Regions from separate parts of the Homo sapiens genome. Here regions 1 and 3 are each linked to region 2. The links are contacts of gene promoters, found by promoter capture Hi-C in blood cells and fetal thymus (Javierre and others, 2016). All regions are on one chromosome and are shown on one strand. The core of a region is centred on a gene start or on the middle of the fragment in contact, and the rest is flanking DNA. Distances in the headings are between cores, read along the strand shown.

The links. Contacts are between HindIII fragments. The CHiCAGO score rates a contact against its expected background, and 5 or more counts as called.
Region 1: a fragment that was not itself captured here is called in contact with the fragment with the promoter of COX6B2 in region 2 in 5 of 17 cell types (total CD8 T cells, erythroblasts, naive B cells and 2 more); the score reaches 8.1 in total CD8 T cells.
Region 3: a contact is called between a fragment that was not itself captured here and the fragment with the promoter of COX6B2 in region 2, in 1 of 17 cell types (fetal thymus). The highest score is 6.2, in fetal thymus.

Annotation. Positions count from the first base shown.
Region 1 is chr19:55,213,587-55,216,367 of GRCh38, reverse strand. LOC124904771 (a long non-coding RNA gene) reads right to left here and starts at 779. Exons shown (of 2, transcript XR_007067346.1): 1 at 1-779. The HindIII fragment of the contact is 1,890 bases long and covers 378-2,267 here.
Region 2 is chr19:55,353,072-55,356,008 of GRCh38, reverse strand. It overlaps COX6B2 (cytochrome c oxidase subunit 6B2), which reads left to right and starts at 1,290. Exons shown (of 5, transcript NM_144613.5): 1 at 1,290-1,359; 2 at 1,470-1,599; 3 at 2,043-2,143; 4 at 2,235-2,402. The coding sequence starts at 1,488. The coding sequence ends at 2,288. GARIN5B (golgi associated RAB2 interactor family member 5B) reads left to right here. Exons shown (of 11, transcript NM_001145402.2): 10 at 664-749; 11 at 914-1,101. The coding sequence ends at 709. RefSeq lists silencers at 1,706-1,755, 1,866-1,975. The HindIII fragment of the contact is 2,438 bases long and covers 1,087-2,937 here.
Region 3 is chr19:55,514,962-55,517,787 of GRCh38, reverse strand. It overlaps SSC5D (scavenger receptor cysteine rich family member with 5 domains), which reads right to left. Exons shown (of 14, transcript NM_001144950.2): 14 at 1-564. Among named protein-coding and RNA genes, the nearest start is that of SBK2, 21 kb to the left of the region's middle. RefSeq lists silencers at 392-571, 702-861 and an enhancer at 381-882. The HindIII fragment of the contact is 6,972 bases long and covers 1-2,826 here.

The sequences.
Region 1 (2,781 bases), core at 73-2,572, 140 kb after region 2:
ATGGCAAAACCTCGTCTCTACTAAAAATACAAAAATTAGCCAGGCGTGGTGGCCAAGGCAGGAGAATCGCTTGAACCCAGGAGGCAGAGGTTGCAGTGAGCCGAGACGGTGCCACTGCACTCCAGCCTGGGTGACAGAATGAGATTCCATTTAAAAGAAAAAAAAAAATCTAATCCTGGATGAGAGTCCAGGGAAAGTGAGAGTGGAGAAAGCTTACATGAAAACGCAGACCAGATCCCTGAGTGTGGACCTGGAAAACGTGACACACGTCATCAGATTCAGATGAAGGGATATTGCCTGAAGTTTCATCAGCCTTCGGTGTGGAGTTGGCCTGATGTCCCCCAAGATGAATAGACTTGTCTCTACCCAAAGAAGCTTCTTCCACTCTGATAAAAGAAAGGAAAAATAGGCAAAGCCACAGACAATGTGATGAGTATTATAATAAGAGATTTGTTTAGTTTGGCTCCAAACATAGGAGGGAGTGGCCAACTGTATCTGGGGTCAACCAGAAGTAGAAAGAGAAGTAGGCCCTGGCTGGTGGAGAAATATTTTACCAGGCAGAGGGAACAGTGTGTGCAAAGGCCCTGAGGTTTGAATCCACCTGGAGTGCTAAGAAAAACATGCACGGACATCTGTGTAGCTGGAGTAAAGATAGGAGAAGAGGCTGGTGAGGTGGGCAGAGAGCAAATCTGAAAGAACTCCAATCTCAAGGTAAAGACATCATTCATTCATTCATTCCTTCATTCATTCAACAAATCACTGAGAAATTAATAAACACCTGTAAGTGTCCATTCCAGTGAGGATAAATTGCTATCCAGGAGTGAGGGGGAACAGCGTGATGTCTTATGGGTTGATAAGATGACCGAGGTCCCAGACAGTCTAAAGGGAATCACACTGACCTTCTGTCACTGTTGGAGTAAAGAACACTCTTCATTCAGGCTAACTTCTATAGGCAAAACGCCTTTTCCAGTTCATTAGCTGAATATCAGGTGCCAGGGGCTGTGCTGATTTGCTGAAGGAGACCTTACCCTGAGAAGACCAGCCACTTCCGAGGGTATCACCATTTTTTTTTTTTTTTTTTTGAGACGGAGTCTCGCTCTGTCTCCGAGGCTGGAGTGCAATGGCGCCATCTCTGCTCACTGCAAGCTCTGCCTCCCGGGTTCACGCCATTCTCCTGCCTCAGCCTCCCAAGTACCTGGGACTACAGGTGCCCACCACCACGCCCGGCTAATTTTTTGTATTTTTAGTAGAGACGGGGTTTCACCGTGGTCTTGATCTCCTGACCTCGTGATCCGCCCTCCTTGGCCTCCCAAAGTGCTGGGATCACAGCCGTGAGCCACTGAGCCCGGCCAGTATCACCATTTCTTACTTCTGTCTTCCAAGATCCATAAGCTCCTGCATAGATTAATCATGTGAATCAAAGGATAATGTTTAGGAATCACCCTCCCATATCCCACCCCTGTGTTTTCCAAGGCTTGATGCTGGCGCTGATCTCTGTGATTCCCTGGGTTGACTGTTTGGGAAGGATGATACTATGGTTTGGATCTGTGTCCCCACCAAATCTCATGTTGAAATGGAATCCCCAGTGTTGGAGGCCGGACTTGGTGGGAGGTGTTAGGATCTTGGGGATGGACCCCTCATGAATGGTTTAGTACCATCCCCATGGTGATGAGTGAGCTCACAAGAGATCTGGGTATTTTACAGTACGTGGCAAGGCCGGGCGCGGTGGCTCACACCTGTAATCTCAGCACTTTGGGAGGCCGAGGTGCATTGGATCGCCTGAGGTCAGGAGTTTGAGACCAGCCCGGACAACATGGCAAAACCCTATCTCTACTAAAAATACAAAAACTAGCTGGGAGTTGAACCCAGGAGGTGAAGGTTGCAGTGAGCCAAAATGGTGTCACTGCACTCCAGCCTGGGTGACAGAGGGAAACTCCATCTCAAAAATTTAATAATAATAAAATAAAAAAATAGAAGTGTGTGGCACCTCCCGTCCTCTCTCTCTTGCTCCTGCTTTCGACATGTTATGTGCCTGCTCCCTCTTCACCTTCCGCCATGAGTGGAAAAGCTCCCTGAGGCCTTCCCAGAAGCTGAGCAGATGCCAGCACCACGCTTCCTGTACAACCTGCAGAGCCGCGAGCCAATTAAAACTCTTTTCTTTATAAATTACCCAGTCTCAGGTATTTCTTTATAGCAATGAAAGACTGGCCCAATATAGATGGGGGAATTTCTAGGGGCTTCCATTTCTTCTTCCCACCATCAAAGCTTTCACACTACAGATCAGGGAAGCCAAAGCATTGTGTCTGCCATTTTATGAGAATGTCGATTTCAACTTCACTCTCAAGGCCTGAGGAAGGAGCCACACAGGGTCTTTAGAGTCCCGTTGACCCACTGTGTGATGGTCTTTAGGTGAACCCTCCGTTCGTTACCTGACAGCCCCAAGCACACCAGTCAGACCATGATTCACGGTGACCTGTGTGTGCCTCCAAATTAGGATTGATTCAGAGTCAGAGTCCAGTAGCCTTTTCTCTTTCTCTAATCCCCAGCGACCATGGATATTGGCCTTTAGGAGAAACTGGGAGGAAGGTTTACAGTATGTACTTTGACTAGTATCGGTGAGTCCTCCCTGAGGGAAAAGCATCCGCTACATGGAAGGGGTTCCAAGACTGAGAACTGGCTCAGGACTGGTAACAGGTGTGAGGCTTTAGGGGTGGACGTCGCTGGTGCTTCACCCAGATCTCCTTTGCAGGCACTGAGCACTCATTCTTAAGCAGTGTTGGC
Region 2 (2,937 bases), core at 41-2,540:
GCCAAGTTTTTGATTTTTTTGTAGAAAAGAGGTCTCACATGTTGCCCAGACTGAAGTGCAGTGATGCCATCACAGCTCACTGCAGCCTCAAGCTACCCAGGCTCAGGTGATTCTCCTGCCTCAGCCTCCTCAGTAGCTGGAACCACAGGCACGCACCAACACGCCTGGCTAATTTTGGTATTTTTTGTAGAGATGGGGTTTCACCATGTTGTCCAGGCTAGTCTCAGACTCCTGGACTCAAGCAATCCTCCCGCCTCTGCCCCACAAAATGCTAGGATTACAGGCATGAGCCACCGCACCTGGCCGGGATTCTTAATTCGTACATTTGGCTGTCAGTGTAAACAATCCTGAGTCAGGCCTGATATTAACCAGGCAGGAGGGAGAGAAGCTTAGCAGGGATCTAGAGGTGAAACCACCTGCCCAGATTCCAGTTACTTGTCTGCCCCTAGAGCCAAGACTCATTGATTCCGCCTCGGATTTATTGTGCATTTACTACTGCCAGACTCTGCCCCAGGCAGATACAACAGTGAGCCAAACACACAGCAAGACCCGCCCTGGGGGACGCTCTCCTAAGCCAGGCATCTGCAGCTCTTAAAGCCCTGGGTACCCCTCTCTCCCTACCCTGTCCCCCAAAGCTCTCTCTGGCTTGCTTTCTCCCTGCAGCCTGCAGCACTCCCAGCACTCCGAGTGGCCGGATGCGGGGGCTTAACCTCAGTTGGAAACTGTCCAGAGGAGCCCAGCGCTGCCAGGTACCCTTTAAGACCCTGGAGATCTGCCTTAGACCTGGGGGCGGGGGGAGGGGGGCGAGGGAGGAGGGTGGGGGGGGCGGGTAACGGAGGGGGGAGGACGAGGGGGGCGGGGGGGTTCCCAGGAGCCCGGACCCCACCGCTGCTCTTTCCTCTTAACCCCACAGGCCCCGAGGGTTCTGTGCGCACCGACTGTAGGAAGCGGAATGTTGAAAGCCGCTTGGGGGGATTTGCCCCCTCTGGTAGATACCAGAACTATGGATATGCCTTTATATATTGGGGGGCGGGGGGGGGCGGGGGCGAGCCCGTGGAGCCGCCCAACTTCGCAGAGATTAAAGCTTGAGCCTGAGACTCAGCGAGTCGCACCTCGGTGCCTGTGTGCACGCGCAGGCCCCCGAGGGGGCGTCGGGGGAGCAAGGGGTGGGGTGGGGGCGCCCCTACCAGCCCCGCGGTGCACGACGGCTCCCATTGGCTGGGGCTCGGGCGTCCTAGCCAATCCGGCCGCGGGGTGCGTTTCTCCTGACCCGGGTGGGACCGCACCCCGCGGACTCAGAAGCGAGCGGCACCCCGGGACCATCCCACAGCAGATCCAGTGGCCGCCAACGTCAGGCTGGTGAGGGCACGACGGGTGGGGTTCAGGGGCGGGGGTCAGGATGGGGAGACGGGTCGGAGCGAGGGCGCCCCCTCGGCCCCACGGAGTCCCCGTCCCGTCCCGTCTCGCAGGAGTTGCCTCCTTCGTGGATGTTGGATGTGGAAGCCCAGGAGCCCCCCAAGGGGAAATGGTCGACGCCGCCCTTCGACCCGCGCTTCCCCAGCCAGAACCAGATCCGTAACTGCTACCAGAACTTCCTGGGTGAGACCTGCTCAGCCAGGTTATGGGAGGAGCAGGGTGTGACAAGGGACGGCAGGGAGGGGCACTCCCACCCTAAGTCCCGCGGAGACCGTTAGGGTGGGAGGCCGGGCGGGGCCGGGTTGGTGGGGGCGGGGCCTGGTCGAGAAAAGGCGGGGCTGAGCCTGGAGGGGCGGGGCGAGGTTGGTAGGGGCGAGGCCTGATCTGGAAGGTGCGGGGCCGAGTCGTGAAGGTGCGGGGCGAGGTAGGTAGGGGCAGGGTCTGGGTAGGAGGAGCAGTGTGAGGGAGGTAGGGGTCGGGGCCTGGCTGGGAGGGGCGGGACGGAGGCCTCCAGGGGAGAGGGAGGCGGGACGAAGCAGCGAAGAACTGGGAGGGCCCGAGCAGTGGAGGGGCGGGTCCTGTCCTGGAATGGGCGTGGCTTGCCGCGTGACCCCCGCCCGCCACAGACTACCACCGCTGCCTCAAGACCAGGACCCGCCGCGGGAAGAGCACGCAGCCCTGCGAGTACTATTTCCGCGTGTACCACTCGCTGTGCCCCATCAGCTGGGTGAGTCGGCAGAGGGGGCGCCGGGCCAGGCGTGTGCAGGGCTCGGCCGAGGCTGAGCCGGCGTCCCGCTCCCTGCCTTTCTGCTTCCCAGGTGGAGAGCTGGAACGAGCAGATCAAGAACGGGATTTTCGCCGGCAAAATCTGACTGCCCCAGCGCGGCTTCCTCTGAAGATGCAGTGATCCTGCATCTTTTTGTCTCGCGGAGCCCCGGGTCTCGGTTATCCACCCCTACCTCCCAGTGTCTAAGCCACGAATAATGGTATGCTGTTGCTGATGTTTCTTCTTAATGCCCAGCCAGCGATGCGTCGTGGTGGTGGTGGGGATCCTCCGTGTGCCTGTGTCCGGGCTAACGCTGCTTTTTCCGATAAGGGGCAGGTGGGGGACTGCTGCTCCATCAGGTAGCAGCAGGCAGTCAAGGCCCTAAGACAGGAAGCCGAATGCCTCCCGTCCCCCTTCTCCCTCTCCATTCCAGCAGGTAGATGCCTCGCGTTGACAGCTACGAGCCAGCCCAGGGTCCCCAGTTCTCAACACTGTCCCACCCAGATGGCTCCAAGGTGCTCCTGCCTCCAATCACCACACCTACCTCTCACCTCAGTCCTTTCCCTACTCCCCTCCTGCCTGGACCATCTCCCCAGGCTCCTTCCCCATCCCACCCCTGATCCATCCCATCTCGGGTCCTGAGGGGTCTTCTTTGTACCACCCAGCGCTGACTCCATCCCTTCCTCCCCCACTCTCTGGGCTCTCCACCACTCTCCATCACGACCCCGCTCCCACCTGGCTCATTTCCCCTCCCA
Region 3 (2,826 bases), core at 24-2,523, 160 kb before region 2:
CAGTAGGGTTAAGGGTTGTGATGGGGTCAGGGGCCATGGTGGGATCAGGGGTAGTAGTGGGGTGAGGGCTTGGGGAGGGGTCTGGGGATCTAGAATATTCTGAGACTGTACTGGAGTATGGAGTTGTGTCCAAATCTGGGGTTGTGTCAGATTCTGGGACCTGCTCTGAGGTAGGGGAAAGGCTGGTCACCTCCGACGGTGTAGAAGGGTCAGAGGTCAGCTCTTTGGGCAAGGTGGGTAAGGGCGTGGGTGAGGGCTCCGGGGTCAACGCGGGAACCACACTGGAGTCAGGGGTGGACAAAGCAAAGTCAGGGCTTGTCAAGATGAGGTCGGGGTTCGTCCGGGAGGCCGGGTCTGGGGTGGGTGGTGAAGTGTCCGGAGCGTCAGAGGTCGCCTCGGACGTCAAGGCTGAGTGGGGAGTGAGCTCTCGACTGGAGTCAGAGGTCAGCGCTGGGCCTGGGGGTCCCGGAGAGGCGGAGGGACCTGGGGACGGGGTTGGGGGCGCTGTCCTGGTCGCAGCGGGCCGCGGTGGCCGGCGCTCGGGCCACGGTTTCCTCGGGGAACCTGGAGGAGGAGGAAAGACAGACGGACGGTCTGAGGTCAACCGGCTCCGCCCACCACGCGTCCCGCCCCGCCCCTCGAGGAGCCGACCAATGGAAAGGCACAGAGCCTCGAGACGTCATGGGTCACCGGCAGACTTCACCCGGCCCTAGGGCCCCTCCTCCCTACGTCCTCCGATGGCTCCAGGCGCCACCTGGCGTCCTCCACTGCGGGAGGATGCGGGGATGCTCCGGACTCGGGGATGCCGAGGGGCACGCGGGTTGCGGGAGCGGGTGCAGGAGGGTGAGGTGAGGGAGGGATGCGTGGGGTGCTGGGGTGCGGGAGGGGGCGGGAGTGCTCAGAAGCGTGCAGCATACGGGAGGATTCTGAGCCAGCGGGGGACTGGGAGATGTGCGGAGCCAGGGGAGGCAGGGAGACCAAAGAGGGCTCCGAAGGGTAATGTTAGTAATCAAAATAAATACTTTTATGGATTTTTTTATTTTTTAAGATAAAGTCTGGCTGTGTCGCCCAAGCTGGAGTGCGGTGGCAAGATCATAGCTCACTGTAACCTCGAACTCCTGGGCTCAAGCGTTTTTATGCAATATTTTTAAACAATCAAAATTAATCCAAAAGATCCACAGTTAACCAAAGTTAACATTTTAACCAAAGACGGGATCCAACAGGGCCAGGATTAGGGGGAGCCCAGCGAGGCGGATAGGATCCTGTCTTCAGTGACTTTTTTTTTTTTTTTGAGATGGAGTCTCGCTCTGTCGCCCAGGCTGGAGTGCAGTGGCGTGATCTCGGCTCACTGCAAGCTCCGCCTCCCGGGTTCACACCATTCTCCTGCCTCAGCCTCCCGAGTAGCTGGGACTACAGGCGCCCGCCACCACACCAGGCTAATTTTTTGTATTTTTAGTAGAGACGGGGTTTCACCGTGTTGGCCAGGATGGTCTCGATCTCCTGACCTCGTGATCCGCCCGCCTGGGCCTCCCAAAGTGCTGGGATTACAGGCATGAGCCATCGCGCCCGGCCTTCAGTTACATTTTTGATACCGAGTTCATCATGGGTTTTTTTTTTTTTGGCATTAATTTTCATTTTAAAAAATACTGTATTATGATATTATGTATCTTGATTTTGGCGTTTTGGGCACCCCCTTAAATTTTGGGCCTGAGTAGCAGGAGGAGCCTGACCCTCTTCTGGGGCTGTCTTCCAAGTGAGTGCCAATTTTATCCCCATTTTACAGAAGGGGGAAATTAGGGCAAGAGGGCAGGTGACTCGCCCAAGGTCACACAGACATAGTTTGCAAGTTGCAGGGCTAAGACTTGAACCCAAGTTGTTTGCACATAGAGTCTAGGCAATGAAATCTCACATCTGCAGTGATGGGAATGCGCTGTGATCTACCGTGCCAATACAGTAGCCACTGGCCACATGTGGCTACCAAGCCCTTGAAATGCGGCCAGTGTGAATGAGAAACTAAATGTTTCATTTTCTTTTATTTTATTTTATTTTTTTTTTTGAGACGGAGTCTCACTCTGTCGCCCAGGTTAGAGTGCAGTGGCACGATCTCGCCTCACTGCCAGCTTTGCCTCCCAGGTTCATGCCATTCTCCTGCCTCAGCCTCCCGAGAAGCTGGGACTACAGGCGCTCGCCACCATGTCCTGCTAATTTTTTGTATTTTTAGTAGAGATGGGGTTTCACTGTGTTAGCCAGGACGGTCGCGATCTCCTGACCTCGTGATCCGCCCGCTTCGGCCTCCCAAAGTGCTGGGATTACAGGCGTGGCCACTGCGCCCGGCAAATGTTTCATTTTCAAAGTGTTAATTCATTTAACTTTTTTTTTTTTTTTTTTTTTGAGACGGAGTTTCACTCCTGTTGCCCAGGCTGGAGTGCAGTGGCGCGATCTTGGCTCGCTGCAATCTCCGCCTCCTGGGTTCAAGTGATTCTCCTGTGTCCACTTCCTGAGTAGCTGGGATGACAGGCATGTGCCACCATGCCCAGCTAATTTTTTTGTATTTTTAGTAGAGATGGGGTTTCACTATGTTGTTCAGGCTAGTCTTGAACCCCCGACCTCAGGTGATCTGCCTGCCTCAGCCTCCCAAAGTGCTGGAATTTCAGGCGTGAGCCACCATGCCCGGTGCTCTTAGCTACCGTATTGAACCACACAGATCTACAGATTTCCACTTGTTCCTGCAGGGCAGGGTCTTTCAGGCGCATCCCTTCCCCACCTTGTCCTTTGTTTGCAGGATTGGAGAAGCGGTTAAGTAAAGGGCTTGTGCTCAAGGCAGGC